Regions from separate parts of the Homo sapiens genome. Here region 1 is linked to region 2. The links are contacts of gene promoters, found by promoter capture Hi-C in blood cells and fetal thymus (Javierre and others, 2016). All regions are on one chromosome and are shown on one strand. Each heading gives the region's core, a stretch centred on a gene start or on the middle of the fragment in contact. The rest is flanking DNA. Distances are from core to core; before and after follow the strand shown. Region 1 overlaps DYSF (dysferlin). Region 2 holds the start of CYP26B1 (cytochrome P450 family 26 subfamily B member 1).

The links. The method cuts DNA at HindIII sites, captures the fragments that hold promoters and counts their contacts. A CHiCAGO score of 5 or more calls a contact.
Region 1: a contact is called between a fragment that was not itself captured here and the fragment with the promoter of CYP26B1 in region 2, in 5 of 17 cell types (M0 macrophages, megakaryocytes, M1 macrophages and 2 more). The highest score is 9.3, in M0 macrophages.

The regions. Positions count from the first base shown.
Region 1 is chr2:71,526,536-71,530,800 of GRCh38, reverse strand. It overlaps DYSF (dysferlin), which reads right to left. Exons shown (of 56, transcript NM_001130987.2): 14 at 2,400-2,503. Among named protein-coding and RNA genes, the nearest start is that of DYSF, 62 kb to the right of the region's middle. RefSeq lists an enhancer at 2,529-3,047. The HindIII fragment of the contact is 806 bases long and covers 2,613-3,418 here.
Region 2 is chr2:72,146,036-72,150,180 of GRCh38, reverse strand. CYP26B1 (cytochrome P450 family 26 subfamily B member 1) reads left to right here and starts at 2,319. Exons shown (of 6, transcript NM_019885.4): 1 at 2,319-2,550. The coding sequence starts at 2,347. RefSeq lists enhancers at 2,430-2,931, 3,121-3,643. The HindIII fragment of the contact is 2,315 bases long and covers 1,286-3,600 here.

The sequences.
Region 1 (4,265 bases), core at 1,766-4,265, 620 kb after region 2:
AAGAGAGGGACAGGCAGAATGAGACACGCCATAAGAGCAGCAGAAGCGGGGACGCCACAAGGAGGTGGCTTAGGGCAGAGAGGACGCAAAGGCCTGGGGTCCACCGAGGAGGCTGGCCAGGTTGAAACTTTCAAGACGGAGCATTCCAGCTGCCTCCTTCACCATAAGGTCATTCTTCAACTCCCTCCACCTCCTTCTAGAGGAAAAATGGGAGGCGCAGCTTCTTGCATGAGCCCAGATGCCAATCTACTGTATACAGTGCCTTGCCTTGGCTGCCTTTGTCCTTTCACCTCCCCCTAGACACTGGTACCTTCCTAAAGAAATCCCCAGGGCCAGCCAAGGGCATCTCAGAACAGAAGACCCAGGGAGATCAAAGATGCTGGCAGGGACCCAGGAGCAGCCCGGAGCCCCGGAGCTCTGAGGCTTAGTTCCAATGAATGTGAAGGCATGTCGGTCTTGGTTCTAGCCACCATCGAAATACCTTCCATGTTGGGAATGCGAAATAAGAACAATCTCAGGACGTGAATTCCCCCAAGTGTCAAGTGGAAGAATTAATCCTAGTCCTTGGAGCTAGTGTCCCACAAAAACGTACAGCCGCAGCTTCCTGTTTCCTTCCTACCTTCAAGCAGCTGTCCCCATTCCTCCTGATGCCAGGCGCAGGGCGTAAGACCTGGACCCTGAGTCTACACCAAAACCTGCACTCAGGTGAGGATCTGCAGTAAGCATTTACACCTCCACATGAACGAGTTTAAAATCTGCATTACATCCCCGTGTACATTTTCACTGGGACCCTGTGCTAGTCTCTGAGGAGAGAGAGCCCAGCTCAAAGGGGCTCCTGATGGCCACCTTCAGTATAATTCATACATCAACACAATAATGACTGATTTAACATTAGAAATAAAAAGTATTGAGGTCCATACTAATACTCAACGAAGCGGAGGGAGAAAGCTCTTCTTTACAGAAAAAAATGTTGGCTAATCAAGAGAAAAAGAATGATAATGAGAAAATCACCACTTTGCAGTCCCAACTAAATGACTTCTTCAGACAGGAAGGTCAATGGATGCTTAGACCATTAGATAAGAGGTAGCTGAGAAGTAGGACATCCGTACAGTGCCAAGATATCACCCACAGTTTACTTGCTAATTACAAAGTGGGAAGATTTATAAGGGAGCTGTCTGGAGGCACCATTTTAACTGTGTGATCAGGCGATCATCCCTAATGATGGGACAACCTGACATTATGGCTCTCTGTTGTGATGCCATATGACATGCAGAACATCAACTACTCTGAGTTCTTGCCGAAATACTTCATCTGAATCTAATGGAGTCTCTAGACCTAACTTCCAGTTTACAGGAAAGAGAGGAGTCAGAGAAACAAGTTAAACAACAGAAGGAAACAATCGAACAAATCCAGTACTTGGACAAATGGCCTGGGCTGTTCAAAAATTCAATGCCATGAGTTGAGAGACAAGGGAATGCTCCTGGAAAGAGCTAGCAGTGGCTGTGGGGGCACGAGGTAGGGATGGGCCCTGGGGACAAGTTTAAAGTCAAAAGCTAGAGATAGCATGTGGGATGTGGAGAGAGAAAAAAGAAGGAAGAATCAAGGCAGGTCCACATTTTCTGCCTTTGATGGTTGTACCTGGTTAAGACAGAGGCTTTTGGATATGGGGCAGTTTGTGCAGAGAAAATGACTCCCTCCAGGGCTCAGAGGGGCAGCAGGCGGAACTGTTTAGAGGCACAGAGAGGCCTGGGGTTGAAGGGAGGGTTCGGAGAGCTACGGAGTTCTCTGCAGAGAGGTGATGGCTGAAGCCTGGGAGGGCTGGGGCTGCCAGGAAAGCCTGTGGGGGGTGCACAGACACTGGGGGGTGGGCAGCCTGTGTGGAGAGAAGGGCTGGGACAGAAGTCAGCAGGGACTGGAGCCACAGTCCCGCCTCAGGGCAGGAAGGTGGGCTGCAAGGAAGAGGCTAGGGTGCCCACCAGAGGGGCCTTTCTCTGCCCAACTACCCCCACAACATTTTTTAAATAACCATTATGTTTTTCTCCCACATCTTTAAAATATAGTTTCTCTATCTTTATGCCTTCATGTCTGGTTTCCATGCTATTGCTCCATTTTCCCCCAAATGTTCCTCTACTATCCACCATCCAACGTCCTCTCCTGGGCCATCCACATCTATGTGTCTGTCTGGGACACCCCCAGGCAGACCTGTCCACATTCGTGTGCGGGGCAGTCCCTGAGAGCTGGGCCTATGTGGGTGTCTCACCACGCACCAGGATCAGCCACTCCTTGTGCACACACCTCTGGTGGGGGCATCTCACTCTGTCTTGCTCTCACCCGGCACAGTCCACAGGGCACCAGAAAGTCCCCTCCCGAGAGAACCCTCCTGCTCCCTTGCTCCTTACCATTTTCCCCGCAAAGCTGACCTCCACAAAGGGGTCCACCAAGTTCTTCTTGTTACTCTCGAAGCCAAAGATCTGTTTCACGTTGTCCATCACGGCATCGTCCACTGGGAAGAGGGACACACCAGTCACTGCCTGCCTGCTGTCTCTCCTCTAAAACCCTGACTGTCCCCCATCTGTCTCCAGGCAGTCCTGGGACTACCTGAGCAAGAAGCTTTGGCCCCTTCACACAGGGACTCAGCCCAGGGGCTCCCCAGAAGGAGGACTGTCTCAGAGCAGCAACTCCTGAGAGCTCCGGGCCACTTTGTCACCAGTCCCAAACAGCTCAGTTCACTGTCCCCACCCTGCATTCAAAGCCTTTCAGATCAAATCTACCTGCCTGACTAATTAGAAATCTACATCACTAAGGGCAGTAAGTACTCAGAAAAGGACTGGCAGTTGTTATAACAATATCCCATTATTGGTGCCTGGTTGACATTTTCCTTTAAATCTATTAGCGCAGCGATTTACCTGAGGTTAACCAAGAAGTCAATTCTGTTGTTTTTTTTTTAAGAGTTTTTAATCTATGCTGCCCCAAACCATTATTTTTTGAATCAGCCAGATTATTTATATATGTAGATACAGATAGATAGATATGTTTATGTGTATACACATACATATGTGTATAAAGCATGTTATGTTTACAGACATATGAGTGGGTAAGTAAGTGGAGGGGGATAAAGATTATACGCTAGCTAATAACTACATGAATACAAAAGGCAACAACAATTAGCAAACATTTATGATCTGTTTGCCCATCTATTTTGTTTTTTTCAAACAACGTTGCAGGGAATTCAACACAAAGCTCTTTCACCTTAAGAAAAGCAAACATTTCTATTTCCCCATGCCCCTCTTGAAGTTCACCAGCCTCACTTCTAGTTGCAATCAATAAGTGCAGAATATTTTTAAGCATGTGTTTTAGTACTGAATTAATACCCATTACTTATTTACAGGCTTTCTTCAGGATTTGATCTAAGTAAGCTTGTACATTTCATTTCTTGACGTCAGCAGCCGAAGCAGAAACTCTCAAATAGTTACCTTTATGGAAAAGTTGTAACCAGGGACCCAAGTTGCAAACCTTCTCACTGACTCTGCTGTGGACAGTGGCTTGGTTGTGTTAATGCATGCTTTAAAATAGTGGCTCACAGCGGGGCCTCACCACAGAACAACCTGGGGAGCCTTTAAACCCTACCAATGCTGAGCCCTGCCCTAACTCGAGTCAATCTAAAACGCTGGAGGTGGGGCCCCGGCATTTGGACCGTTTTGAATCTTCCCAGGGAATTCTACTATCAGCCCAGGTTGATAACCAGAGCTCTAGAATATTCGGTATAACTCCCCAGCATTTACTAAACACACAGATGGGTCTAGTATCGGGCCAACCACTGTGAGAAACCAGGCAGTGGCCACATTGGCCTTCCTGGGAGGAAGAGATGGTTGCAAGTCGGGTGCCCACTGTCCCAGTTTGCTGGAGACTGCAGGGTTTCCTGGAACAGGCACTTTCAGTGCTAAAACCAGGACAGTCTCAGGCAAGCTAGGATGGTGGGTCACCTTGTGGATCTGTGTCCTTCATCTGTGAAGACAGTGGGGCCCAGGAGTCCTTCATGCAAACCCTTCCAACATTAGAGCAACTGCTCCCCAGCCCAGCTCTGCCACTAGCAGGACGGGCTTCCTCACAGAGGGAGGGAAAATCAGTGAGAGCCAGCCCTAAGGCCAGAATAGAGTCCAGATGGTGCTGACTTCTCAATGAGAACTAAGAAAATGGGTCCACAGAGTGGCCAAATATTGCCAGACCAGGCCCAGAGGACATTGGAATGGAGCTGAGAGGCAGCT
Region 2 (4,145 bases), core at 1,070-3,569:
GACCAATGTCGGGGTTGCTGTACGCAGCTCCATGTTAACACAGGCTCGCAGGAGGAGAGGCCAGATGACAGATGCACGGATGCGCAGACACACTCATGGCTCTACAAAGAATACACAAACCCACAGACATACCACGTCGCTCCTCAGACGTCGGGCCGACGCAAGGCCACGCGCGCGAACACACAGGTGCGGCCCCGGGCCACACGCACACCGTACACAGGCACGCGCGCCGGGCCCTCTGCTGCCAGCGCTGAGAAGGTGGCCGTGCTCACCCAGCATGTTTATTTACTCATTTGTATCAATGAACGTTTGTGCCCGTCTTCTCCCGCCTCTGGGTACCGGGGCCGCCGCGTTTGTCCCCGCGCAGGACACTTGCCGGACCAGTATCGGGGTTCCCCGACGCTGCGGGCGGTGGAGGGGGACTACAAAAGCAGGGGAGGGGGGTCCCAATGTGCAGGAAAGGAGGGGCTGCAGAGTCAGCAGCCTGGGACGCTGACGGGGACAGGAGAACCTCCAGGTTCCGTAGGGTAAGAGACATATGGCGGGGGCGGACCTTAGCATCGGAGGTGTGAGGATATAGGGATCGGGAATGGGGGATCTGGCTTAGGGGGATTGGGACTGGTAACTCAGGGGTCCCTGGAGATAAGAGCCAGCGGGATCCCGGGGGTTGGAAGCTCGGGACCCTAAGGCACAGTTTCGAGGGCTTTGGGCGCCTGCCAGTCGAGGGGGCAGTCCGGCCAGGACCTCCGCTGCCGGGGCTTCGGCCCAGGAGGGACTGCTCGGAGCTGGAGGAGGGGACCGCTGACCTGGGAAGGAGGAAAAGAGGAAGGGAAGGAGCCTAGAAGCCAAGCAGGCACTAAGCGAGTGCGCACCGTGTGTGCGGAGGTGTGTGTGTTGTGTGTGTGCGCGTGTGTGTTGTGTGTGTGTGCGCGTAGGTGCGCGCGCGTGTGTCTCATCTCGTCCGTCTGTAGGCGCTGGGCTCAGCGAGACGCCGGCGAGAAAGAAGAGGAGGCGAGAGGTGAACTGAGTTTGATCCTGCGGCGGCTACAAGTGGGTCCCGGGCGGGCTGCGGGCGGCGGGCGGCGGGCGGCCGGGGCGGGGCGGGAGGCCGGGCTGCGCTCTCCAGCTCCGGCCGCGGGCCCGGCCTCTCACCACGCCTCCGGCTTTGTGAGCGCGCGGGTTGGGGCGGGGGGGTGCTGGCGGGGCGCCCACGGCGCAGCCTCCCGCCTCTATATAAACACACGCATCGCCTCGCTTTGGACTCAAATTCACATTGAGAGAAGCTTTTAAAACCACCAGCCCTGAAATCCTGCCTCCTGCTTTTCCCCCTCTTTCATTCCTTTTGCCTTCCTTTCTTTTTTCCCCATTTCTTCCCCCAGCAGCAACTCCAGAGCCGAGAGACCGCGTCCCGGGACGGACTGCCTTTTCTTAATTGATACAATAGCCCAGCTCGGGTTTTCCACCTCCTCCCCCAACCCCACCCCGCCTCACCCCTCCCGCCCGCTGCCGCCGCCGCCGCCGCCGCCGCCGCCGCCGCCGCCCCATCGCCCGCCCGGGGCTCTGTCGCCGGCTGCGTCCCGTCCCGGCCGCGGCCCGCCGGCTCCGCACCCGCGCTCGGGCCGCAGCGCCCGCCTCGCCGCCTCGCCCGCCGCTCCTGCCTCGGGGGTGCTGCGGCGGCTCTGGGGCTCGAGCGCGCCGCCCCGGGCAGCCCAGGGACTTTTAGGCTCCGGCCTCTCCACTCGCCTCAGCCAGGGAGCTTTCTCCCTCGCCCCCAAAGTTTCTGGGTTCGTTGGAATTTTTGGATTCAGGAATTTTTTCTTTTTTTCTTTTTTTCACCTAGGAATTTTGGGGCCATACTGCAATACTTTTGACAAATCGACCGCACTTTCTCTCTGCTAGCTCTCTGCCCCCTTCTTTTTTTCCGAGCAGGGGAAGGGGCTTACGAGAGAGAGGCTCCCTCTGGACAAAGTTTTCCAAAGTTTTCCGAGTGTGATGGTAGCGGGGAGAGCAAACCCACCAGCTTGACTCACGGCTTCATCTCACCACCCCTTGAGCAGCCCCTAAGCCCGCTATAAAGGAACAAACAAACAAACAAACAAACAAAGTTGCACCCCAGTCGCCTCGTGTTTCCTCTCTTCTTTTAGGCAATTTTTTTCCTCCCTCTCTCCGCTCCCCTCGCAGCCTCCACTCCCTTTCCCTTGGCCCCTTCCTCCTTCTCTGTTTCGGCTGGAGGTGCCAGGACCCCCGGCCGCAGCCTCCCCTCCCCCGCCGCTCCGGTCCCCTCCCGTCGGGCCCTCCCCTCCCCCGCCGCGGCCGGCACAGCCAATCCCCCGAGCGGCCGCCAACATGCTCTTTGAGGGCTTGGATCTGGTGTCGGCGCTGGCCACCCTCGCCGCGTGCCTGGTGTCCGTGACGCTGCTGCTGGCCGTGTCGCAGCAGCTGTGGCAGCTGCGCTGGGCCGCCACTCGCGACAAGAGCTGCAAGCTGCCCATCCCCAAGGGATCCATGGGCTTCCCGCTCATCGGAGAGACCGGCCACTGGCTGCTGCAGGTAAGGGCGCGCTCGCTCCGCTGCACTCCGGGGTCCGCTAGCTGCGAGCGCGGGGCAGACGGAGCGGCGGGCCGGCCAGGGGGCGCCGGGAGCCTGAAGGCACTGGTCCCCGCCCCGCCCCTTCCCTCCTCTCTGCCGCAGCAGCCCGGGCTTCCCCAGCCCGCCGGCAGCGCGGTTCCGGGACCACTGGCGCCCGCGGCGCAGGTTCAGGGGGCTGGTAAGAGGGGTTCCCGGACCTGAGGGGGCTCCCAAGATGGACTTGCCTGGGTCGCGGCTGGCCTGGCAGGGGGCGTGGAGCGCCCCGGGGGCGCCTAGCGAGGCGCGGTCCCGGGGGAGGGTCCGGTCCTGAGCCGCTTTCGCCTCCCCTCGGTGCTGCAAGCCCCCAGTCGCCCTCGGCTTTCTGGGGTTGGCTGTGTCGCTGGGAGCCGAAAATTGAGTCGGGAGAGGAGGGGGCTGGTGGCAGCTTGAATTGCCGATTTAAAACTGTGTTCCTGCGGCGCCGTCGGCAGCGCCAGGTACAGTGTCCCTGGTCCGCGGTCCGCGCGAGTGTGTCTGTTTTGTGGTGGAAGAGGAAGAAGGTAACCCAAGGAAAAATGAGAATCCAGGGCTCTAGGCTTTCGGGGAAAAGGGTCTATTTACTTATTGGGTGGGGACAGTTTGGCAGGAGAGGGAAACTTGGGAGAGGTGAGTGTGGGATCCATAGAGAGAGAGTGCGTGTGTGCTTGTTAGATGCCGCACAACCCCACTCTGCTGGTGATAACGGGGGTGAGGCGCGTCAGGGACCAGACCCAGGTAGGTAATGGGGAGATTAACCTGGAGTTCACCTCATCAAGTGCCAGACAATCGCTTTTGCAATGTGATACACACCGGTTTTCTTCTTGGGGTGGGGGAGCGGAGCGCCTCTGCAGTAACTGCGGGAGGTGTATTTGTGTGTACGCGCGTTTGTTCTGTTAGGGGAAGCAGGGATGTCCTGAAACTGACAATCCCCGCACTAGAGAGGTGAAGCGAAAGGTGAGCGCTGCGACCTGTGGGTTTACAGGTGCGAAAGCTTGGCTTGAAATTAACAGACGCGTGCAATCCGCGCGCTCGCGCACACACGCACTCACCCTGCCCCGGGACGAGTGACAGCGGAGCGGGGGCGGGGAGGGGGTTCGAAGTTCCTCTGCCCTGTGGTCTTTCCACGTCCCGGATTAGGCCCATCTCTTTTTGGGGTTGTTCGTGCAATGAGGTGGGGGTCCTTTCAACCAATGGATGTATCACCCCCCCACCCCCCGCAAAGAAATCCCCAGAGCCTTTCCCTCGCCACCACACTTAAAGTGTCAACTGCAGCGGTGCTCTAGGCTTTGGGCCGCGAATTTAGGAAATAAAATAACTTGGGCAACGGCTCCCGCCTTTTAGAGCCAGTCTGCTGAATCCACGGTCTGTCACCACCCACCCCCACTTCGTTTCCTGACCTCTCTGCCCCCCCTCAGGTCCCCATGACCTTTTCTCCGAATCCCACAAGAGCCCCTGGGGGTCAGCGTCCAACCTGCACAGAAGTTAGGGAGGAGGAAACCTAAGCCTCCCCATCCCTCCAACCCGGGGCCCTAGATCTG